7 separate regions of the Homo sapiens genome follow, and all the other regions are linked to region 1. The links are contacts of gene promoters, found by promoter capture Hi-C in blood cells and fetal thymus (Javierre and others, 2016). All regions are on one chromosome and are shown on one strand. The core of a region is centred on a gene start or on the middle of the fragment in contact, and the rest is flanking DNA. Distances in the headings are between cores, read along the strand shown.

Region 1 (3,570 bases), core at 394-2,893:
GTCAAAGCTCACACTCATTTCCAAATTAATCCTTAAAGCTTCCTGACTGGGAGGAGCTGATTAATTAACATTAATTTATTCATCATGCACTTTTCTAAAGCTCTTGAAAAGCCTATTGATCCACACTGGACTTATCAAAGGAAATGCACAAAAATTTCCAAAGGGAAATTTGCCCTCTATTGCTGGTCAAAACAGCTTCACTGAAGAAGAGACATACCAAAATCTAGAAACTGATTTTCTTTAAAAGTCTGACAAGAAAGAAAAATCTGACAAGAAAATTCGACTAGCCTAAAGTACAAATGCACAGCCTCGCAGAGGGTGGTTTACATGAGAGTTGAGATGTTACTGGCTCGCAAAATGAGGGTGTGCAGAAGGAGGGTTCAGAGACAGCCCAGCTTTGTCTTAGACAAAATTAATGTTCCCAGTCTGAACAATGTGAACATGGGCACATCTTGTTTCTGCCCCTTTGATAGGCAGCAGATGTCACAACCAGTCATAAATGCAGGTCCACAGAAGTTTTCAAGAAAGGAACCTTGGGTTTGTATCCAAGTTCTGAGCTGCTGCTGCCTCCAACACTGAGGTCCACTGAAATATTCCTGTCAGTAGACTTCGAGCAGGCAGTTATTATAAAAACGCAGTGAAATCTGGGGCAAGGGGTGGGGGGGGGGAATCTCTTGCATTTTATTTAAATCTCTTGCACTTTATTTAAGCCCACACAAGTACTCATTTAGTTCTTGTTTATTTTGCTCTTTAATTCCTGGAATTATTCAGTCAGTGGTGTTTTTGGAAGTCTGTGTTCTCCAGAGTCTCCCCATCCACATATTTTTGACATGCTTGTATGGAAATTTTTTAAAAATAAAGACCACGGTCAATAGAATTGTGCATTTTCCTCACGAGTCGTTTTGTAAATGAATGATCACGTGTGTGATTTTTCAGATGTCACTTGCACAACAGCAGACTAGAACTTTAAAACTCCTTGATTTCAGTGAAATCCAAGCTTTGCCTATTCCCGTTCCTCTTCCATCCAGGGGTTATTTGGCTGAACTGTTTTCCTGTTTAAACAACTTGAACACCAACCAACTAGACAAACAGCGCTGCTTGCAAAAGAGGGCCTACTTCCTCCGGCCCCCACCCCCATCCCAGCAACCCCACTCCGGCCGCGCACCAGCAGGGGAAATCGCCACCAACGTCCCCGCTTCTCATTTCAGCCCGAAATTGCCCTGAAACGGCGCCCGTCGTGCGACTCCAAGTCCCTCAGTTCTCCGGCCAACTGGCCTAATTTGGGGGTTCCCTCCCCGCGGAGTGGGGTCTGCGGTGAGGATGTGGACTCCGAGGAAGACAGAGCCCTCCCTTATTCTCGGCCACCTCCCCTCCCCGAGGGCAGGCGGGTGAGAGGTGACCCGGAGCCAGGACCCACGGGGGACGGGCGTGCAGGGAAGGGCGGGATGGCCGGCCGGGTGTTGCGTCTGCGGGCCGCCCTCGGGTGCGCGGGGACGAAGAGCGTGCGTTGGGAAGGGGGCGAAGGCGGTCGCGCACGGTCCCGGCGAGGGACTACGTAAGGGCTTACCCGCGACGGCAGCAGCGGCGAGGCCCAGCAACGGCAGCAGGAGCGCGGGCAGCGCGGCCCGGAGCATGACGGCGGGTGCGGGTGGGCGGCAGCGGCTGCGCGGCCGGAGAGGAGCGGGGCGGGGCGGGAGCGGGGGCGGTGCTTCTCGCGTGCGAGTTTAATCCCCCCCCCGGGCGGAACGTGAACGGCACTGGGGGCTCCCACCAGGAGAACCCGGGTGTCCCGTCCCGCAGGAGCGGCTGGCGCGCGGCCTTCTGGAACTTCTAATTTTTGTTTTTTAAACTTTTCATTTGAATTGAAATAATTTAGGACTTTCGAAAATGTTGCAAAAACAGCACAAGAGATTTCCGTAACCCTTCAGCCAGCTTCTCTAAATATTGACATTGTATATAACGCCAGTGCAGTGATCAAACACAGGGCACTCGCACTGGGATAATGCGATTAGCTAATCTACAGCACTTACCACATTTCATTAATTGCCCCTCTAAGGGTCCTTTTCTGTTCCAAGATTCAATCCAGGATCATACATTGCATGTCGTGTCTCCTTAGTCTCCCTTTAATCTAGGACGGTTCTCTGTCATTCTTTTTCTTTCACGATCAAACCACATTTAAAAAGTACTGGCCAGTCGTTTTGTAGAATGTCCCTCAGTTTCATTTTGTCTGACATTTCCTTCTAATTGGATTCAGGTTGCGCTTTTTTGGGAAAGAGTTCCCCAGAAGTGATGTACGTGCTCGAGAAGGACAAGATGTCGATGTCTCATCACTGATGTTAACTTGGATCAGTTGGTTAAGGTGGCGTTTGCCAGCCTTCTTCTTTGGATCTACTGGCCAGAATCCTCCTTTTCAAAGACCCCTTTCAGTGGACTATGTCTCTTAGACAACTTTTCTCTGTTACCAGCTCCTGGATGAAGAGTCTTTAAGCTATGTTTGCTACAATGTATGCATAAACTGTGCAATTATACTTCACCCATGAGGGCCTCTGGACAACACTAGCCAGGGTCAAGCAAGGGTGCTTGTTTAAGCCTCATGTCATTGGCAAAAGAGTTCTATAAAATCAAGTCTAAACTCAACAACGTGAAAACAAATGACCCAGTTAAAAAAAATGGTCAGATGATCTGAATACACACGTCATCAAAGAAGTTATATAATGGCAAATAGATGAAAAGATGCTCAACATCATATGTCATTGCTGAATTGTATATGAAAACAAAAATGAAATACCACTACATACCTATTAGATACCAGAATCCAAAAACACTGACAAGACCACATGCTGGCAAAGATGTGGAGCAAAAAGAACTCTCATTCAATGCTGGTGCAAATGCAAAATGGTACAGCCACTTTGGAAGACAATTTGGAAGCTTCTTCCAAAACTAAACGTACTCTTACCATACCATCTAGCAATCACAACTCCTTGGTATTTATCCAAATGAGTTAAAAACTTACATACACACAAAAACCTGCACATGAATGTTGATAGCAGCTTTATTCATAATTGCCAGAACCTAGAGGCAAACAAGATGTCCTTCAATAAGTGAATGGATAAACAATGGCACATCCAAACAATGAAATGTTACTCAGTACCAAAATTAAATGAGCTATCAAGCCACAAAAAGACATGGAAGAACTTTAAATATGTATTGCTAAGAGAAAGAAGCCAATCTGAAAAGACTGCATACTATATGATTCCAACTATATGACATTTTAGACAAGGCAAAACTATGGAGACAGTAAAAAGATAAATGGTTGCCAGGGGTTGGGGTGGGAAGAAGGAGGGGATGAATAGATGGAACACAGAGGATTTTTAGAGCCATGAAATTATTCTGTAGGATACTGTAATGGTAGATGTGTATCACTATACATGTGTCAAAACCCATAGAATGCACAAAACGAAGATGAACCCTAGTGTGGACAATGGACTTTAGTTAATAATGTGTCAATATTGGCTCATCCACTGTAACAAATGTACCTGCTAATGCAAGATGTTAATAATTGGGGAAACT
Region 2 (3,570 bases), core at 440-2,939, 470 kb before region 1:
TTAAATTATGAAAGTCTGACAGGACAAATAAGTAAAAAGAATAACTCTGATCTAGAATGTTGATAACTATTATTCTTAAGAAAGATCTGTGTATTTTTTCCTCTCATAATATAAGGATAAAATCTAATAAAACATGAAAAGTCTATTCATCTTAAGAATTCTTAAAACTTGAAGATGCTAATCTCATGGTAATTCATCTACAGAAGGTGTCTGTAGTATTCTTTCAGTCTAGGTCACTACTTGAATGAGTTTAAAGATACAAAAGAATTCTCTTTTGGAGCACAACAGAATTAGGAACAAAGATGAATATAAATGAAAATATAGAGATTGTTAATAAGAAAGTTGAAGAGGTAATAAAAAGCCAGGCCAAAAAATGAAAAAGAGCTAAGGAAGTGTCAAATAGAGAAGTCCAAGTGATCAAATCTACTAGAAATTGATTTGATTTTTTTTCCTGGATAAAAGATAACAGGTATTTGCAATAAGAAGAGAGTTCCACAAACTTGTGGTTCCCAGGTGTGAACAAAGCAGTGGTGAAAGATGGGGCAAAAAGATGTCTGTTTTTGAGAAAAACAACATAGAAAGAAATGACATAAAGGACATTATACTTGGAATCGAAGGATATGAATTCCAGCTATGGCTCTGCTACTAACTTTAAGCAAAAATATTTGTGAGGCCCTGTTTTCTCACTTAAAAAATAAGGATGACAAGCCACATACTTGCTAAAGTCATTCTAGCTCTAGAATTACATGCAAAAAAGAACTCTCAACATGGTCTTATGCAATATAACTACAAATTGCAGGCAGCACACTGATGCAACAAGAAGGGTGCCCCACCCTGTATTCATAGAGAAAAAAAATCTGCCTTTTGAGAGTTAAATGTTATAATAAATATAATAGATCATGAAAGAAAGATATGTAAACTTCTGGCAACGTATGGCTTTTATTTTTATTTTCCAAATATGTGGTACACACCAAACACTTTTAGAAAACTACTATTCCCTTAACCAGATTGTTAAGAAATCCTAGACTGCAAAGTCACATAATCAGTGTAGCAATAATTTAAAGTTGGCTGCAATCTTTTTTTTTTTTTTTGAGGCAGTCTCGCTCTGTTGCCCAGGCTGGGAGTGCAGTGGTACAATCATGGCTTACTGCAGCCTCAACCTCCTGGGCTCAAGACATCCTCCCATATCAGCCACCCGAGTAGCTGGGGCTACGAGTGTGAGCCACCATGCCTGGCTAATAAAGTTGGTTGTATTCTTAAAATTGGCTGAAAAACAGTCCTTTGGAGTATTTCATAGCATTGTCTTTGAGGATTTCATGACCCCTGCCAGTACCTTACTTAAAAATGCTCTTAAGCAGTTAAAATTATTTGTTTCTTTATTGGCAGGTTAAAGTATAGTTAAGGAGATATTTTAATTGACTAAATAAGGCAAACCATAAATCCAACACTTTCACCATATGATATCAAAGAATCACAACCCCTGTCACTAACTGAAATAATTAATATGTTTTATTCAGTCTCTTCTCCATTTAGTTATTTATATTCATTAAAATCTGATTATTTTGGGTTTTTATATTACACTGAGCTTTTACTCTGAATCTCTAAAATCATTAAAAAGGAGAACTTAATATAATGAAGAAAAAGTCCATTTAATGACAAGTTAGATTAAATAACTGTGTTACTTAAAACAGAGCTGGAATTATGAATAGTGGGCCAAAACATTTAGTTTCTATTTGAACTAAAATATTACTTGGGATAATTTTCTAACAAATTAATATTCACAATAAGAAAATATGAAATTGGGCCAGGCGCGGTAACTCACGCCTGTAATCCCAGCGCTTTGGGAGGCCCAATGGGGGCGGATCGCCTGAGGTCAGGAGTTTGAGACCAGCTTGGCCAACATGGTGAAACCCCGTCTCTACCAAAAATACAAAAATTGGCTGGGTGTGGTGGTGCACACCTGTAATCTCAGCTACTTAGGAGGTTGAGGCACAAGAATCACTTGAACCTAGGAGGTGGAGGTTGCAGTGAGCTGAGATCACACCACTGCACTCCAGCTTGGGTGATGGAATGAGACTCAGCCTCAAAACGAAAAAAAAAAAAAAAAAAAAAGAAAGTATGAAATTGAAATCACAGAATCAAAAAACTTGTGATTTTTTAAAGACAAAAAATGATGTGTGTCAGCTGATGATCTCATTAGATAGTGCACCTACACATACTTTAAAAGCAAACTTTTATCAAGTTACTCTGTTACCTGATTACTTTGCTCTTGGGCAGGGCATTCCCCCAACCCCCATCACCTTTTCTTGGCTAGAGTACAAATTCAAAGAGGAACTTAGTGGGTCTTAAGCAAAACTTATCAGATTTCATGAACAATGGTACATATCTTTCTAGTTTATATATTGATAGAAGTCACAAACTGGTGGCTCACCGGCTCCAAACAGGCCACAGAATGTATTTGGTTCATATAATGCTTGTAAAAATTCTGAATTTGTTTCCAATATTTAATATTTGGGAGGACATAAAAATCCATAGTCTTGACTTCCCTTGAAATATTAGTGGGTTCTGGAACATGGGGCCCACATTCCTACATGGCAACAATTGGGTGGAGTTGAGCTTTGACTATTAAATTTAAATAGGGCCATGACTCCCCTGTTTGCCACAGTGCCCATGAGGGGTCCAATGAACTCTTTCATGTCATTTACTTGGCTTTTGTAGGCACTGAAGTTTGAAATGTCTAATATGTGAGTTTGTGTGTGTATGTGTGTGTGTATCTAAGAGTGTATATTCATATAAGTGGCCCTCCATATCTGCAGGTTCTACATCTGTGGATTCAACCAGCTGCAGATGGAAAATATAAAACAAAGGCCGGGCACAGTGGCTCATGCCTGTAATCCCAGCACTTTGGGAGGCCGAGGCAGGCAGATAACTTGAGGTTAGGAGTTCGAGACCAGCTTGGCCAACATGGCAAAACCCCATCTCTACTAAAAATATAAAAGTTAACCAGGCATTGTGGAGCACACCTGTAATCTCAGCTATTCAGGAGGCTGAGGCAGGAGAATCGCTTGAACACGGGAGGTGGAGGTTGCAGCAGTGAGCCAAGATCGTGCCACTGCACTCCAGCCTGGGCAACAGAGTGAGACTCTGTCTTAATAGGAAAAAAAAAAAAAAAAAGAAAATATAAAGCAAAAAATCCAACCCCCTCATAACAAAACAACAATTAAAAAATAATAAATAAAAAACAATATAGTCTAACAACTATTTGCATAGCATTTATTGGGTATTTATTGCATAGTTTTATTGGGTATTATAAATAATCTAGAGATGACTTAAAGTATACAGGAGGATGTGTGTAGGTTATATGCAAATAATATTCCATTTTATATAAGGAACCTGAGCATCTGTGACTCTGGTATCCATGGTGGATCCTGGAGCTAATCCCTTGCAGATTTGCAGATACTGGGGTATAGCTATGTTGTATATATATGCACACACACACAAACACATACACATCTTTTCGATTCTGTGATCCTGTGATCACATATATACATACATACACACACACATACA
Region 3 (3,570 bases), core at 570-3,069, 430 kb before region 1:
AACACCATGGGAATTACTCCTACCTGGTATTAACCAGAGTTCTCATTTGCCCTGGCCCTCCATTAACTCTTCCCTTACTAGTCATGCTGTGTAAAACTCTACTCAACTTCTCAGGTGCAGAAAACACCTACTCTTACATCTCGGCTCCCAGTGGATCCATGCCCCACATTAGGAGAACCCCAAAGCAGCATAAAACTCTCAACCAAATACTTCCACTTCAGACCTGCAGTTGAGTCTAATAGCATGCCGACAGTGTGTTAACCCCAGAAAAACATAAATGCCAAGTGGATATAAAATGTAGCATTAAACCTCTGTAATCCAGTGGAACCTGTCGTCTTATGTGAAAGGCATGCTTACCCTGCCTCCCACCTGTAAATAACACTGCACATTTTGGAAGTACTATGAGACCTTTAATAGTGACTCAAAATCTAAGACACTGGTCACTTTTCCAGCTGTGGTCTCCAGGGCTAGCATTAGAGCCTATCTGCAGGTGTCAAGGATACAAGCTTTCATTACTTTGTACAAGGGCTCTTGCCTTGAATAGTCACCTACGAAGCTGAGGATATGACCAGCAATTGCTATCATGGGAAACGCTGCCATTGAGAAAGCCTGGGATCATATCACTGAAATTAGTATTGCTTCCTTGACATGAGTAATATTAGAGAATTGCATAGCTTTGGACTTTTTGTTGGATATGCAGCCAGATTGCTCATGGGAGCTCTGTATCTCCTAATGCTGTGGTATATTGTTTGTTTTAGAATTTCTCTGGCTATATGACTCTTTCAGCACTGTCAACAAACACTGAAGGCACCATTTAAAATCTAATTGCTTTCTATTGCAGATGGGGACGCATATATCTAGTGAGCCACACCAAGGGTCAGGGGGTGGACTGAGAAGGAATAAACCCTCAGTCTTAGCTAAATGGGCATGGGGGCTCTCTTCCTTCTCTTGTTCCCAAGACCCATCAGCAAACCTGCTTAGCCACCGAGCTGATGTGCAGAGGAACAGTAGGGTCTTTAGCTGCTGTTCTCAAAGTCCTTGGTTTGTAGATCCTGGTCCTTTGTAATGCAAACTCCCTAGTGTTGTTCCTAGGCCCAGAGGTCCTTTGAGATATATGTTGTTTCTTAGAATAATGAAGGACTTGGACTAACCTCGAAATATATAGTGGTATGAAGGCAGAGCCTTCTCTTTGAGTGATCTTGTTTCTTGTCCAGTCTCTAACTGGACAAGGCACACCCCTGTGGAACCACTGTAGGGGCTCAGAGATCCCCTGAGTGCTCTGTTACTTATCTGAAGTTATCATCACCAATAAACATTATTGTTATTAGCACTGTGTGTAATGCTTGTGGTATATATTACCTTGCCTCTTGTACAACACGAATTTAATTTAATTAATATTTTTCTGTGAAGGTAATCCAATGTCTGATATCTTCTCCCCATAATATTAATTGATGTTAATGTTATTATAAGAATTTTTTAAAAACTTGTACATTTAATGTTAAATCTAACCTTTCTTTATTAAGAACACATTATACTTTTAAGGAACTTTTAAAAAGTAATAAATAAGCAGCTGGGCACAGTGGCTCACACCTGTAATCCCAGCACTTTGGGAGGCCGAGGTAGGCAGATCATGAGGTCAGGAGATCGAGACCATCCTGGCTAACACAGTGAAACCCCATCTCTACTAAAAAAATACAAAAAAATTAGCCAGGCATGGTGGCAGACGCCTGTAGTCCCAGCTACTTGGGAGGCTGAGGCAGGAGAATGGCGTGAAAGTGGGAGGTGGAGCTTGCAGTGAGCCAAGATCGCGCCACTGCACTCCAGCCTGGGAGATAGAGTGAGAATCTGTCTCAAAAAAAAAAGTAATAAATAAGATGATGACAATAATGTATATTGTTAATGTTGAATTAACTTTCAGCACCCATTTATTTACAGTAGTTTCTACTAGTTTGACACTTACTGATCTTTATCAGCCTTGCCTGTCAGACACACTACGTGCTCATATTATACACTTGTATGTTCTCTTTGTCTTCATACGTGCTGTATCTTTCCAATTAGATTGTGAGCTTTTTGTGGATAGGGACAGGTTAACTGATTCTTTTGCATCTTGTTTTGCTCAAGTGATCCCCCTATGCCAGCCTCCTGAGTAACTGAGATTACAGGTGCACACCACAGTCAGCCATATATATGTGATTTTAGTAGAGACAAGGTCTTGCTACGTTGCCCAGGCTCGTTGTGAACTCTTGGGCTCAAGCAATCCTCCTGCCTCAGCCTCCCAAAGTGCTAGGATTACAGGCATGAACCAGTGCACCTGGTCTTCTTTTGCATCTCCACAGCACTTAGTACAAGGCACAATACAGGTGTAAATAAACACTTGATGAATAAATCATCTGAGTTTTTTCCTCATTTTAATTAGCTGTAAGATAAAGAGAAGGAATCTATACCTATTATTTATAAGTTCTTAGCACATAGAATACAGCAGACGTATATTCCCTTATTATTTCATTAATGTCTATTAATATGTCTATTAATGAAATAAAAAACTTCAGAAGAAAATAAAGTGAAAAATTATCCCTACTTCCCCCTGCTCTGCAATGACCACAAATAAGAGTATAAAGTACAACTGCTATTTATATATCACTTTGCAGTTGTTTTAGATCCATTATCTGACATGATCCTTGTAACAATCGAAGAATTCATATACAGCTTATTAATATTTTTTTGCAGAAACAGAAATCAGTGTCCAGAGAGGTTATGTAGAAGAGCCTGGATGGAAATGGAGGTCTAATATGTAAATTCAATCAATGATAATCTGAAAGGCCTAAAAAAAAAAAAAAAAAAAAAAAAACTGTCTCCTATAAGCTATTCTTATAAAACCTTATAAAGACATTAAATTATTTATTTACTTATTTAAATCTTAAAGTATTTTAAGTGTGCCTGTGATATATAAAGTACTATCCTTCCAACACTATGGAAAATTAAAAGCACAGATGAAGATTATAAGATTTAAATAAGGAAATAGTATATATATTAATGTGCTAAAATAATGGTCTAATTAATTATCTGCTTTTCTGGGAGTTCAATTTCACGTTTATTAAAAGGTCCACTTAAATAAGCTGGGAAGTTTGTGGAAAAGCTTAGGATTTGAGCTGGATCAAGAAGGATGGGTGAAATTTCGATGGTAGAAGAAAAGCAGATTATTATTATAATAAACAAGATTTGGCAAAGATGCAAGGGGAGGAATACACATGTGTTCAGTGAGTAGACTGGACTAGTTGAATTCTCATTAACAGAACAGCATAAAGACAGCTTGGGGTCAGAATTGTATACAGTCTTGAATGCCAGGCTAAGTACATATTTAACTACATCATGTTACAGGTTATAGAGGTCATTTAAGGTTTCAGAGTAGAGACATGATATGATGACAGAATGTGATGGAAGGAGGGAATTGTATATAGAGAAGTTGAGGACAGGTGTAATAATCCAGGTATACAATGATAAAGAACTGATTTCAGTAGTGTTGCAAAGAGACTGATTTCAGGTATTTTGAAGGAAAGTTGATGTCCTAGA
Region 4 (3,570 bases), core at 726-3,225, 400 kb before region 1:
AACAAATAGGAACCATGTGAATATTTGGTGGAAAAACAGCAATAGTACAGACCGTTCATTCAGGAATAATAACAAGACAAAAATGATCAGAATATAGTGCATAAGGGACAAATTGTATGAAGTAAAACTGGAGTGAGAGGCAGAGGTCAGTGGGAAAATGCCATGGTGAGGAGTCTGAATTTTATCGTAATTGCAATGAGAGGCCCCTGGATAGTGTCAGGATATGATCTGGTTTACTTTTTGAAAAGATCACTTTGGCTGCTCTGTAGAGAATGCATAGGGAGTGCTGAGGAAAGCAATAATGAGAACAGAGAAACCAGGCTCGCTCTTTCAGCTATTAGGATTTAAGTCATTACTTTATGTACATATGCACTTATTGGCTTTATTTTGGTTTAATATTTTAACACAGTTGCCCTGCCATTTCTTTTCAAAGTATTTATGCTTAATATGTCCAGCCCTATTAATAACTTGTATTGCTCCAATATAGGTGGGTTAATTTTCCTTCAGCTCTTCTCCCTTTATCTGCTACCTGTTTTTAGACTTAAAAGTAATTCAGATTTGCCCATGAGTATTCTGTATTCTACTTCTGTTTCTTTTTGCTTAGGACAAAGGTAGGTAGGAGAGGGAGAGCTATACCAGGTTTCTGGTATCTCTCAGTTTTATTGGAAGAACTGTAGCGGACTCACTCTATTTAGTCAAGAGTATATCCTTTTCCTCTTGAGAGGTGCTCTTGGGCTTTGATGGATTCTTAGAATATCTCATTTTCATCAGCTGTATTTATCCTGTGGCTACCACCCTCCACTCAACCCAGATCTCCTTCACCTCTCTGCAGCAGCTTCCCCCACTCTCCCCAGGCCCTAGTGGGCAAATATGAAAAACCAGCGGGAGGGTTCATGTCTCTGAGGCCTTTGGGGTGCCTCTTTCACCTGGGCATTCCCCCTCTCAGATGATCTCATTCTTACTATTTTACTGGATCTTCTCTTCTAATGAAGCCTAGTATGCCTAAAGATAACGTTCTGGGTTATTTTAGTTAGCTTTCCTCCCTGCCAAGAAAAACCAGAATGGCAAGCCCTGGTTCTTTTTATTCCTTCTGATTAAAAAAAAAAACAAAACAAAACCCATGATTGGTAGGGAAGAACTTGTCTCCTGAGGGATTTTCTAGGTCTTTTCCCTGAGCTACTAATTGCTCCCTCCATTTCCATCTCTCCAGATTGAGAGAATTAGGTTCAGTGTTCAGGCTTTTAATTAGTCCCCTTCCTTACTCTTCCCTTCACTGTACTGTTTCCATAAGCGAATAGAGAGCAGCCATGCCAATTCCTGGAATACGTTACCTCTCTCTTTCCCTGACTGTCATTTTTCAGAGATTATGGTTACAATTCCACGCACAGATGTATAGATTCAATTATTATGTTAGGTATAGAGGGTGTCAATAGGCCTGGGTAATCAAAAGGTTAGGGAAAAAAAGACAGCAGGAAAAGTGTTGGAGTAAAACTTCCATAACCTTTAGGAAACGTCACAGAAAGTGATTGTTGTAATATATGTTACATGCTATGTTAAGTCTATGCTAAGAGGTACTCTATGTCAGTAGTTCGCAACCTGGGATGCATCTTGCTAGGCCCATTCTACACATACGTAGTATCAATGGTTAAGTACTATGTGGTGCCAGGCACTGTTCCAAGAACTTTACATACACAGAGACACATATCCATTTACTCATCTCTTCAGCCCTACAAAACAGAATTCAGTATTATCTTCATTTTATAGATGAAATGAATCACAGAGAAGTTAAATAACATGCCCAAGGTCATATAGCTGGAAAGTAATGAAACCAGAATTCAAATTCAGATAATCTGGCTACTTTGCACAGGTTTCAAAACAATACACCTATTTTCTCTACACATCAAAAACCTATATTGCTAATTTAAGCTAGAGCTGAAACCAAAATACTGAAATACAGCCTCCCAGCTTCTAGATCAAACAGTGTCATTTTCATTAATTCTCACTTATTAAATGCTTATCTCACTCAAAAATCCCATACCTAGGAGGTAGGTATCATCTCAATTTTAAAAAAATGGCTTGAAAATGTCAAGCAAATTGGTGGCAGAACCAGCAGGGGAACCTGTGTCTTTCAACCTCCAAAGCCCCAGTTATAATGACTCTATTCAACTGTTTCAATACAGAATGTTATTCCTTTGTAACATATATCTATTTCAACCTTTAAGTGATTTCTATTAACCTCCAAATAAGCTCATTCTGATTGTACTGCAATAATTTTCTTATTCTGAATTATTTGTTAAAAGTTATTTTAAGAAAAGTACTTAGCCTAATTTTACATAGAGAATGCTAAAGAATAATTCTTAGGGCAGAAATCCATGGTCGGAATGATTTGTGTTTGAATTAGGACATACAGGATTTGTCTAGGCATGCTGTAATACTAGTTTTGTGAAACTCTGGTGTGATAAATAGCTACTTTTATCTAAACCAATGTTATTTACTACACTAAAAAAAGACAATTAAAATCTTAGCCAGGAAAACTAACACATACATTGGAACTCTTCCTACATTCTTTTATGTTCTAACACTCAGTTGCTATCTCTAAACTTTTGGTTTGCATATGAAAACCAGTAAATCACAACAAACCTATATTCTGAAAAATTTATATTTAGAAGAGCCAATGCTTTAGGAAAAAGCATTACTTTATAAGGTAATATTTTTCTAGAAACATACACTTACTTCTGCTTTTTTACGAGCTTCCATAGCTTTCATAAGCATCATGTGTTGTCGCCTTCGCTCTCGTTCCTATTAGGCCAGATAAAATGTGGAAAATAACTCAGCCACAATTAACAGTTTGATTTTCCAATGAAAAAACAAAAACAAAAACAAAACAAAAACTCAGTATAGCATGTTTAGCATTTATAGACAAGTCACAGTAAATACTAAATATAAGACAAGAATGGCCAGTCTGTGCATGTTTTAGTTCAGGTTTAGAAAGCAAATACAACAATCAAAAGCAAAAAGGTAAAGCAATGAACATGGAGACAGTGTAAACAGAAGCATACAAGATTTACTTATGGTCAGTTGTGATGCTCCTTCAAAAGCTGGCAGAACAAAAAGCATAATGGTTGGCTGGAACAGGTCAGTTACCTTACATCTGCTATTAGAAAAACCACAAATACTATGGCCAATTAAACTAACGGTTGTGTTGTTCTTAAAATTTTAGATCAGGAAGAAATTGATTTATAGTCACTTTAACTTCATGATTTTAGAGTAGGTTATTTTCAGTACAAAATCATTTTGCAAATCCAATAAGCCACCAATAAATTAGAGTTTTTTTAAGGCTTTTATACCAATTTAGTTAAACTAGTCTTGTTTCACATACACCACCAATGAAATGGGATATTCCTATTTACTGATGTCTGCCACCTGATACTCTATTTAAAGCCACAAAAGCTGCACCATGGGCTCACAGGTGGAATCTTAAAGGCACAGTATGAAAATAAGGTAAGCACTAGTTTAATTTGACATTCTCACTTTACTTTTAAAATAAAAAAATCACTTATTTATAATATC
Region 5 (3,570 bases), core at 696-3,195, 380 kb before region 1:
CACATATATTTTGGAATTTACAACATTAGTATAAGCTTTAGGAATTTCATTTTTAAATTAAACTTAGATGTATAATTATTCATGGCCTTTGGCATAGCTTTAATATTCTTACTTTAATGACTTAAGCTTTAATTAAATATATAGATTTGTATCTGTATCTATAAATGTAGAGATATAAATCTTAATCACCATTTCTGAACTATAATGACCATCGAGTTAGCAGATATTTAAAAATGTTAGTTGTACAATGATGCCACTATAGATTGCTCTTATGGGTTATCAGTTAAACCAAAACACTAAGCTACCCAAATAATACATGAAAGTTTCTCTTTATAAATATTACAGCTAACAAATTAAGACAGAAAGAGTTAGAATATCAGGATTCTGCAATACCTAATAAATTAGTTAATTGAAGAATTGAACTTGAATGGTTGCCTATCATCAAAAAGAGACACAACTAGACAGGTATCAGCCTCCTGATGGAGGCTCATACAATCACCTATAAAATAGTACTGCCCCTCACACACACACAAAAATCAAACCTGGATTTGATCAAGCCTCTAGATTTAATTACAATAACTTTAAAAGAAACACGGAAGTATAAGTTAAACTATACGGCAAAATCCATTCTGTGGGAAATTCTATAAATGACCTAGTTTCTTCAACAAATGTTGCAAGAAGTAAGAAAACTGTAGGAAGTTTAACTGAACCTTAAAATATGTATCAAACAAGCCCAATTTGTGGACCTTACTTGGATACTTATTTAAATAGACAAACTGGCTGGGCGCGGACTGGCCGGGCACAGTGGCTCACGACCTGTAATCCCAGCACTTTGGGAGGCCGAGGCAGGCAGATCACCTGAGGTCAGGAGTTCGAGACCAGCCTGGCCAACATGGTGAAACCCCGTCTCTACTAAAAATACAAAAATCAGCTGGGTGTGGTGACAGGCACCTGTAATCCCAGCTACTCGGGAGGATGAGGCAGGAGAATTGTTTGAACCAGGGAGGTGGAGGTTGCAGTAAGCCGAGATCGCACCATTGCACTCCAGCCTGCAGGATAAGAGCGAGACTTCATCTCTAAATAAATAAATAAATAAATAGATAAACTGTTAAGAAAATTTGAACAATAAAGAGACAACTGAAAATCTGAGCAATGACTGAGAGTTGATGATATCAAGAACGTATCAATGTAAATAAGTACAACCACTATGGAGAACAGTTCGGAGGTCGCTCAAAAAACTAAAAATAGAGCTACCATATAATTCAGCAATTCCACTGCTCTGTATATATCTAAAAGAAAGGAAATGAATATACTGAAGAGGTGTCTGCACTCCCATGTTTGCTGCAGCACTGTTCACAATAGCCAAGATTTAGAGGTAACCCATATGTCAGATGGATAAAGAAAATGTGGTAAACATACACTACACAATGGAGTACTTATTCAGCCATAAAGAAAAATGAGATCCTTTCATTTGCAACAACATCATGGATGGAACTAGAGAATATCACGTTAAGTGAAATAAGCCTGGCCCAGAAAGGTAAGTTTTGCATGTTCTCACTTATTTGTGGGAGCCAAAAATTAAAACAATTGAACTCAACAGAGATAGAGAGCAGAATGATAGTTACCAGAGGCTGGGAAGGATAGTGAGAGGAGAGGGGCAAGGGAGTGAAGATGGTTAATAGTTATAAAAAATATGTGGGTAAAATAAATAAGATCTAGTATTTGATAGCACAACATGGTGACTACAATCAACAATAATTTATCATACATTTAAAAAAACCTAAAAGAGTATAACTGGATTGTTTGTAACACAAAGAAAGGATAAATGCTTGAGGTGATGAATACCCCATTTACTCTGATGTTATTATTTTGCACTGTATGCCTGTATCAAAATATCTCATGTGGCCGGGCGCGGTGGCCCACGCCTGTAATCTCAGCATGTTGGGAGGCTGAGGCGGGTGGATCTCCTGAGGTCAGGAGTTTGAGAACAGCCTGGCCAACATGGTGAAACCCCGTCTCTACTAAAAACACAAAAATTAGCTGGGCACGGTGGCGGGTGCCTGTAGTGCTAGCTACTTGGGAGGGTGAGACAGGAGAATGGCTTGAACTCGGGAGGCGGAGGTTGCAGTGAGCCGAGATGGAACCACTGTACTCCAGCCTGGGTGACAGAGCGAGACTCCACCTCAAAAAAAAAAAAATATTCTCATGTACCCCATATATATATACCTATTATGTACTCACAACAATGAAAAAAATTAAAAAGAAATTATATATTAAAAGTATAATAGTGGTACTGTGGTTATGAGTCCTTATCTTTTAGAGACACAAATGGAACCATTCCTTCAACAAATTTTGGAAGGGAGAAGTAGATGAGGGTATATGTAAAACAGTATTGGTCAAAATGATAATTCCTAAAACTTATGATGGGTACAAGGTCTATATTATCAGTCCATCTATTTCTGTATATATTTGAGATTTCTCATCATAAGCCTCCTAGTGGAGGCACATGCCAACACAATGCTAGTGTATCTGCGGCCGGGCTCAGTGGCTCATGCCTATAACACCAGCACTTTGGGAGGCTAAGGCGGGCAGATCAAAAGGTCAGGAGTTCAAGACCAGCCTGGCCAATACAGTGAAACCCCGTCTCTACTAAAAATACAAAAATTAGCCGGGCGTGGTGGTGTGCACCTGTAGTCCCAGCTACTTGGGAGGCTGAGGCAGAAGAATTGCTTGAACCCAGGGGGTGGAGGTTGCAGTGAGCCAAGATTGCGCCACTGCACTCCAGCCTGGGCGACAGAACAAGACTCCGTCTCAAAAAAAAAAAAAAAAATACTGCTTAGCACATAAATACATGTATCCTGCATGTGTCAATCAAAACAAATACACTGTTATATTACCTTATAGTCCAAAATAATATGTTCAGATATAGGAGACATCTTTTAAAAATAATTGTCTTATTATTTCTTTTTAAGAGTTAATTCCTTCAGTATGAAGGTTAAGGAAATTTTTAAAACGTGTTTTTCTCTAAAAATATCCTCAAAGTAGAAATTTTGGTTGAGTCACTAGAAGAAACTGTGCAACCAAAAATAACCCAAAGTTCTTGAGTTTTACGTTATAACATGATTTGCCTAACCTGGGGCAAGAAGTCTATGAATATCGCAGTTAATGGGTACTAAATTGTACGTGATTATGGATAATAGCTACATCTCACATTCTAAGTATTGTGCTTTGTTCCAGATACTTTGAATAGACTATACACTTTAATCTTCACAACATTTCTATCTCATATGGTGGGTTTTATCGTCTTTACAATTGAGGAAATTCAGGCTGAGTGAGGTTGAATAGACAGCAAAGAACAGACTGTGATTCAAACCCATGACTGTCTCACTCTAAAACCTGTGCTCCTGACCACTATGGGTACTTGATGTTATAAAGATGTTCTTATACCTGATAAGTGACAGATCATAACATTTAGCCATGAAAGCACAGCCAAGATTATGTCAAGAAAAGACCGTCAGAAAAAAACTAATGCATATGTTCATATATACATATGCTAAAAATAACATCTAT
Region 6 (3,570 bases), core at 757-3,256, 360 kb before region 1:
GCCTGTAATCCCAGCATTTTGGGAGGCCGAGGCGGGCAGATCACTTGAGGTCAGGAATTTGAGACCAGTCTGGCCAACATGGTGAAACCCCATCTTTACTAAATATACAAAAATTAGCCTGGTGTCGTGACGCATGCCAGTAGTCCCACCTACTAGGAAGTCTGAGACAGCAGGATCACTTGGATCCGGGAGGTGGAGGTTGCAGTGAGCTGAGATTGAGCCACCGCACTCCAGCCTCGGCAACAGATTGAGACCCTGCCTCAAAAAAAAAAAATAAAAAAAAATTGGTATTAGGAAAAAAAGGACATTAATTTTAAACCCAAGTAATTGTGAAGCTTGTCTTACTCAAACATATTTATCCCCTTATTTCTAAATCCTTAGATCTTGGGTGTGGGGACTTACCTTAGGCATGGGTTGCAGGGGAGCTGGAATGACATGATTGCATTGCCAAAAATACATTAAACAGATACATATATGAATATAAAATCAGAGAAATTTAGTTTTCTGCTGTACATATTCTATTCCTGGAGACTAAGAAAGTATAAAAATGAAGGTAGAATTTAACTTAAACTTGTGTATTGTAAGACAATATAGAAGCTCTATCTTTCTCTAATAGTAAAATTCTTGTATAAATAATTTGTAACTCACCCGTTTGGATCTCAATTCACTGGTCAATAAACTAGATTCTTCAGAGGTATTTTTATTCCCTGCTTTAAGAACATCAGGAGAAGGAACTATGAGTTTCATGTAAGTTTCCTTTTTGGCTTGATTTACCAAAGATAAAGGTTTCACATTGGACACCAATCCCGTAGACTGTATTACACTGGTGTGTTTGTTCACAGATTCCTCCTTTGCCTGAGAGCTTTGGAAAATAAATGGAAGCTGCTGTGACAAAACCTGAGGCTGCTTCTGCTGGGATTGGAATGAGTGAGTCTGGGATTCAGACGCAAGAGGTAATGGCTGGTGTATTCTTTTTTCCTGGGCTTTTTCAGTTGCTTTCTGTCCATCTGCTTTTGGGTCTGAAATACCATGTAATAGCACCTAGATATAAAAATGAAAAGGTAAGTTCCTAACATCTATTAAGACAAAGACTATCAAGCAGTAAAACCTGGAGATAAAAACGGGTACTTTCAAAGTGTTCTTAATGCCTTATGATAATATCTAAAAATCTAAAAATTCGTAAAAGAAATACCGTATGTCCCTTTAAAAACATTTCTTCATCTTCTTTCTTGGGCAAAAGTATGAACTCAAAGTAATGATTAACTTTAAAACTACAGACTTTGAGAGTCAAGATAAACCAGTTAATTCCTAAATATGAATAATGTTTGGATACTGTCCATGAAAAAAATTATACCTGGTTGTTACTTTTATGTTGTGCTTCACTCTCTGAATCAGAATCATCATCTTCACTTTCTTCAATACTTTGATCTTCTTCTTCTTCATCTTCTTCTAGATCATCTGAATCACTGCTACTAATGCCTTCACTTGAGGTGTCTGATGATGTGCCTGAATCACTATCACTGTTGCTAGAACTTTCCATTGCTTTCTTCCTTGGTTTCTGGATAACGACAAGGTAGTTGGCAAGACTTTATTTTTGGAAAACATTCAAGTTTCAATAAAAGGTGTACTCTTTTTAATTTTCAAATGATATTTTCAATCTCAAAATGTCATTGTAGGAAAAAGTCACATATCGTAAGGATAATTATTTAACAAACTGATCAACTTAACTTACATGACAGAACTCCTCAATGAAAAGTGCAAGCTCTGTCATGTAGAATATTGAAAATATCAATATAGCATATGTGTAGATGTACTCATATGACTGTTATTCTTCAAAATGTATGACAGATTAAAAAGATCAGTTCACAAAATAATTCCAACTATGATACATACATCAAAAGTTACACATTTAGCTTTAGTCTTCTTTCTTTTTGCAGACAGTGAGTCAGTAGCCAAACATTTACCTATAACATGCCACACACACCTTTCTGGGTATGTCCAAGACTGAGTCCTTGCCTTCAAGAAACTTACTAGTGCTGGTGATAGGGGAGGGTACACAAATGCTTAATATAAAAGCAAATTATTCCATATAATAATAAGTGCTGTAGAGAAGATAAAGTAGGGTAGCAAAAGACCTATGGGGCTGCTTTAGTTAGGGTCAAGGAATTTAACTGTTTATGTTTCATTTCAGAAAATATTAAAAAAAAGGTAGAAGATGAGGTAGATAAATATGACGAGAGAGATTTATTTTTGGAACATTTAAGACTCTGCAAGAAAAATAAAATCCAAAGCTGGTAGAAAGTGGTTATTAGGTCACATAAAAGTGAAGTTTTGTGTTCAAGAAAACATAATAGTAGTGGACAAAAAGAGGAAAAATCATGAGATGTATTATAACAAATTAACAAACCAATCAATTAACTTATAAAAGAACTCCTCAATAAAAAGTACAAGCTCTGTCATGTAGATTATTGAAAATATTCATAATTATTTAACAATGGGAAAGTTAAAATTTCACCAATAGAAAGACTGAAAAGGAGAAACATTGAAATGATGGAGCCACAAGATTAAGTACAATCTAGGAACATTTTAATGGCATTTGCTGATAAAGAACAAAATATAGAAAAAATAACAATAAATTACAAAAGTTATGATCTTAACAGAAATACATCCTTTTATGACTACTCGGGATTGGGGAATGAAATACAGTAATATATCTCCACAACAGAGAGCCAAATTGAAGCCACGGTTACAGATTGCAAATCTGTAGTCTTTTTATTGTGTCTTCTGAACATTGATTCAGGTAACATTCATATGAGTGAGGAGAGTCACTCCCGCCATTATATTCCGTTTGCAATGACTCTTGTTTTTTTTTTTTTTTTTCGGGGACAGTCTCGCTCTGTCGCCCAGGCTGGAGTACAGTGGCACGACCTCAGCTCACTGCAACCTCTGCCTCCCAGGTTCAAGCAATTCTCTGCCTCAGTTTCCTGAGTAGCTGGGATTACAGGCGCCTGCCACCACGCTAATTTTTGTATTTTTAGTAGAGACGGGGTTTCCCCATCTTGGCCAGGCTGGTCTTGAACTCCTAACCTCATGATGCACCCGCCTCGGCCTCCCAAAGTGCCGGGATTACAGGTGTGAGCCACCACATCTGGCCTTGCAATGACTCTGCTTTAACTGCTCCAAACTAGTTACAAGAAGGCCTCTTTCAAAGATACACACTTCAATAAGCAGACTAATAGTTCCCATCATTTCTTGAGTTTTCTTCCCTCAAAGTAGGGCAGACAGGAACGAGAAACTGAATTGGAATTGTATGGGTACCCACACAATGAGAAAGATCACAAGGTAGAGAGATTAAAGGAAAATAATAATATATTAATATTAAGACTACCATTTATTTGTCAAAGAAACAGCTACTTCTTTGCAACCAAAATCTGTTGTAGTTTTCTAAGCATGTATAGCAAGACCACGAAAATCATAAGGTACCTAAACTGAAATTAACATTTTTGTTTTAGTAAGGGATAACAAAGAAAAGAAATAAGAGAGCTACAGTGATTTAGCAGAGAAAAATTA
Region 7 (3,570 bases), core at 1,071-3,570, 340 kb before region 1:
TAAAAAACGGTCAGTGTACCCTCTAAAGTCTGATATAAAACCTATATTCTTTATTAAAATAATGCTATATTCTTTACTGAAACAAGAAGATCTGAATGACTTTTAAAAATAAGATTTAAATAAATTGCATTAAGTATGTTTTGTATCAGGCTATATAAGGAAAAAGTTCTGATTCAGGATAGTGCTCCACTACAACAAAGCAGTAACTAGATCTCACAGGGAAGATCCTCAAAGTATCTTTACAAGGAAGGCCCACAAGGATACTGTGAGGTAAGAGGACAAGGAAAGGGCATAAACTTGGGTGTCTCTTCTAAATCAGCTAATCATTGTTTTTGTTGAATTGGTTCTTCTGTTTTATCAGAGTGGACTGCATTAGCACTGAAGATGAGTCAAAATAAAACAGAGTATGCTACTGCCAAAAAAGCTACCCAAATGTCATTATCTTTAAGACCAGTGATAGGTTACCAGAAATATTGTGGTTTTTTTTTTTTTTTTTTTTTTTTTGGCAAATTCTCAGAAACCCAGCTAGTTTCTCAAAAAAATGAGCTTGTAACTATAAAAACCAGTTTTTACTTTCATTTGTTATTACATATAAAATCTCTGGTTCTCACCAGTCAATTCAACTTCCTGACTCAAATGTTGTTAAATGTTTTATTTATAAACATACTATGATCAGTTCTTTTCTTTCTCCATCAATTTGTGTGGTAAGCAAGTTGAACTGAACATTGCAGTTTTGGAGAATTTGGGGTCATCTGTAATTTATGTTTTACAAATAACAATTCCTAAATTATATCAATTACATGTATGTAGTTGTGATTTAATACAAAGAAATTTGAGGGAAGTAACCTCAAAATTACAAAAGCTATATTAAATATTACAAAAATCCAGAATAATTGAAATTATCAAGGATTAGAAACTGATAGAAACACTTCTGCAATAACTAACTGTAATTACAATTAGTTGTAATAACTAATTGGTAATAATTGGTAGTAAGTAATAAATAATTGGTAGTAATAAATAATAAGTAATACATAATTGGTAGTAAGCAGCATTCTTAGATGCATAGTTACAGCATTAATTTCATTATTGGGAAGAAGCAAACAAGCTAAACTTTGTAGTCTCACAAGCAGAAAACATAAGCAGTAAATAAATGAAGTTATCACTCTTGTGGCAACAATGAAGAACCAATGATACATACTTTGACAACAAAAAGTTCTTTTTTAACTCTAAAAGGAATGACATGTGGAAGCAACTGAGTAGAAAATTTCAGCAAAATGAGCTGTATACATCACAGATTCAAATGAAAAAAATATAGATCTGTACACAAGAATGACATCTATGCCTGGCAAGAATGCAGAGATGGGAGTTCAGATCAAGGCTACTTCAACTCTACTTCCTAATTCTTTCTTCTAAAATTCTTGGTTAAAATAGTTAAAGCATGGAAAGCATCCTTAGTGACGACTGAGTCTTACAGGTCCATTCCTTGCTGGTGAGAAAAAGATTCACGTCTATATTTAGTAAAGTATACTAAGATCACTTATCATAATTGTAGTAATACCATGCACTAAAAAAATACCCACGTGAAAGACTTCCTGTTTCATGCGGGAAAGGTTATACTAGAGAAGGGAAATAATTTAAGAATACATTTCACAATTTTACTATATTTTGCCTTTATAGCAAGAATTTAGAACTCAGTGATATTTTTAAAAAAGTAATCTTTTTCATTAAAAAGTTCTGTAATGCTATATATATAATTTTAATACTGTTTTTCTTCCATCTTTTACAAAACACAGATAGTAATTCCATGTAAAAATCTTACAGAATTATTCTGTTATTTAACAGTTTCAGTAATTCAAACATTTCATGAACATACCTATTAAACATCAGGTGCTATGCTTAAGTAACTGGCCTACAAGGATGAGTAAGACAATCTCTGACCTCAAGGAACTCATGTTTTGAGCATAATTTAAACAGTGCAAGACTATTTTTATACCATAATGTATAAAACAAGTTTGTTAATATTTCAGTATTACAAATTGGTACTGTCATATACAGGACTCAGTAATACAACCCAAACACCTAAAACAGTGTCTAGTACATAACGGACATAAAATAAATGTTTTTAATGAATTAATTCACTACTCATTTAAAGCAGAAGAGGCCTATCCATGGGACTCATTCCAAAGGCTTTCAATCAGAACAAAAAGCTGTCTTGAGTCTTTAGGCAAACTTGCAGTTATGGTTCCTAGATTCCTTTGCCTTATTTCCTCAACCCCTGGTCCTAATTTGTTAACATTAACACTGGCCCTTTATTCCTCCTTGATTCCATTTAGGTCACATGTTGGATTTGATCACACAGAATCCTACCACCTCCAGGATCTTAAACTCTTAAAGTTTCACCCTTGAACCACAATTTTCACATTTCCATTCCCTTATTTCTCAGCACCACCTCCAGCCCCTCCCAGGGCCACTCCTTTACCCTGTCTGTCTCTTTCCCTCTCAATACATCAATACCTCTCCTGTGTTAACCTTAAAGGAAACGTCCTATACCTGCTATGTCTACTTCCTCCTCACTTCTCAGAATCTTTCAACATTTGTGCCAAGCCCCAAGCCTCCCTTCCACTTGGTCTGTAAAAGGAAAGTTTTCATAATTCCTAGATCCCTCTAATCTTTATTGTTTTCATTCTCAACCTCTTATATAAGTCTGGCATTCCTGACTGCCTCTTTCATATTATTATTTTTTTGACATGGAGTCTCCAGCCACCCAGGCTGGAGTGCAGTGGCACAATCTCAGCTTACTGCAACCTCTGCCTCCCGGGTTCGAATGATTCTCCTGCCTCAGCCTCCTGAGTAGCTGGGATTTCAGCTGTGTGCCACTACGTCCAGCTAATTTTTTTGTATTTTCAGTAGAGACAGGGTTTCACCACGTTGGCCAGGCTGGTCTCAAACTACTGACCTCATGATCTGCCTGCCTCAGTCTCCCAAAGTGCTGGGATTACAGGCGTGAGCCACTGTGCCTGGTCCTTTCTTTTCTATTCTTTCTTTTTTCTTTTTTTTTTGAGACGGAGTCTCGCTCTATTGCTCAGGCTGGAGGGCAGTGGTGCGATCTCGGCTCACTGCAACCTCCGCCTCCCGGGTTCACGCCATTCTCCTGCCTCAGCCTCCCAAGTAGCTGGGACTACAGGCACCCACCACCATGCCCGGCTAATTTTTTGTATTTTTAGTAGAGACGGGGTTTCACCGTGTTAGCCAGGATGGTCTTGATCTCCTAACCTCATGATCTGCCCGCCTCAGCCTCCCAAAGTGCTGGGATTACAGGTGTGAGCCACCGCGCCTGGCCTGGTCCTTTCTTTTCAAAACCCATTATCATCCTTAAGATCTAGGTCGTGGAACCCTCTTGATCCTCTTCTTAACTATACATCTTTCAATAATACTATCTCCTTTATTGGATTTTCTTTTGCTTTTTTCCCCCTAAATGTAAAAGATTCCTAAAGATTTTGTCCAGCTATCTCTTTCCTTCTCTTATGCTTTCTCCTTCAGTATTTCACATGCTTATACTGTTTAAACTAT

Evidence for each region. The method cuts DNA at HindIII sites, captures the fragments that hold promoters and counts their contacts. A CHiCAGO score of 5 or more calls a contact.
Region 2: a contact is called between a fragment that was not itself captured here and the fragment with the promoter of CD302 in region 1, in 1 of 17 cell types (monocytes). The highest score is 5.2, in monocytes.
Region 3: a fragment that was not itself captured here is called in contact with the fragment with the promoter of CD302 in region 1 in 1 of 17 cell types (monocytes); the score reaches 5.1 in monocytes.
Region 4: a fragment that was not itself captured here is called in contact with the fragment with the promoter of CD302 in region 1 in 1 of 17 cell types (neutrophils); the score reaches 5.9 in neutrophils.
Region 5: a fragment that was not itself captured here is called in contact with the fragment with the promoter of CD302 in region 1 in 1 of 17 cell types (neutrophils); the score reaches 6.5 in neutrophils.
Region 6: a fragment that was not itself captured here is called in contact with the fragment with the promoter of CD302 in region 1 in 1 of 17 cell types (neutrophils); the score reaches 5.2 in neutrophils.
Region 7: a fragment that was not itself captured here is called in contact with the fragment with the promoter of CD302 in region 1 in 1 of 17 cell types (neutrophils); the score reaches 8.6 in neutrophils.

What each region holds. Positions count from the first base shown.
Region 1 is chr2:159,796,565-159,800,134 of GRCh38, forward strand. CD302 (CD302 molecule) reads right to left here and starts at 1,644. Exons shown (of 6, transcript NM_014880.5): 1 at 1,568-1,644. The coding sequence starts at 1,634. The region is part of intron 33 of LY75-CD302 (LY75-CD302 readthrough); the gene reads right to left. LOC124906083 (a long non-coding RNA gene) reads left to right here. Exons shown (of 2, transcript XR_007087273.1): 1 at 1-1,388; 2 at 2,255-3,570. The HindIII fragment of the contact is 1,931 bases long and covers 996-2,926 here.
Region 2 is chr2:159,325,980-159,329,549 of GRCh38, forward strand. All of the region lies in intron 34 of BAZ2B (bromodomain adjacent to zinc finger domain 2B), which reads right to left. Among named protein-coding and RNA genes, the nearest start is that of WDSUB1, 41 kb to the left of the region's middle. The HindIII fragment of the contact is 4,193 bases long and covers 1-3,570 here.
Region 3 is chr2:159,366,036-159,369,605 of GRCh38, forward strand. All of the region lies in intron 27 of BAZ2B (bromodomain adjacent to zinc finger domain 2B), which reads right to left. Among named protein-coding and RNA genes, the nearest start is that of WDSUB1, 81 kb to the left of the region's middle. The HindIII fragment of the contact is 2,630 bases long and covers 505-3,134 here.
Region 4 is chr2:159,393,036-159,396,605 of GRCh38, forward strand. BAZ2B (bromodomain adjacent to zinc finger domain 2B) reads right to left here. Exons shown (of 37, transcript NM_013450.4): 20 at 2,734-2,799. Among named protein-coding and RNA genes, the nearest start is that of WDSUB1, 110 kb to the left of the region's middle. The HindIII fragment of the contact is 8,269 bases long and covers 1-3,570 here.
Region 5 is chr2:159,412,632-159,416,201 of GRCh38, forward strand. The region is part of intron 13 of BAZ2B (bromodomain adjacent to zinc finger domain 2B); the gene reads right to left. Among named protein-coding and RNA genes, the nearest start is that of WDSUB1, 130 kb to the left of the region's middle. The HindIII fragment of the contact is 3,642 bases long and covers 125-3,570 here.
Region 6 is chr2:159,437,655-159,441,224 of GRCh38, forward strand. BAZ2B (bromodomain adjacent to zinc finger domain 2B) reads right to left here. Exons shown (of 37, transcript NM_013450.4): 7 at 1,355-1,558; 8 at 649-1,041. Among named protein-coding and RNA genes, the nearest start is that of WDSUB1, 150 kb to the left of the region's middle. RefSeq lists an enhancer at 85-1,284. The HindIII fragment of the contact is 3,347 bases long and covers 334-3,570 here.
Region 7 is chr2:159,455,285-159,458,854 of GRCh38, forward strand. The region is part of intron 3 of BAZ2B (bromodomain adjacent to zinc finger domain 2B); the gene reads right to left. Among named protein-coding and RNA genes, the nearest start is that of BAZ2B-AS1, 160 kb to the right of the region's middle. The HindIII fragment of the contact is 5,013 bases long and covers 1-3,570 here.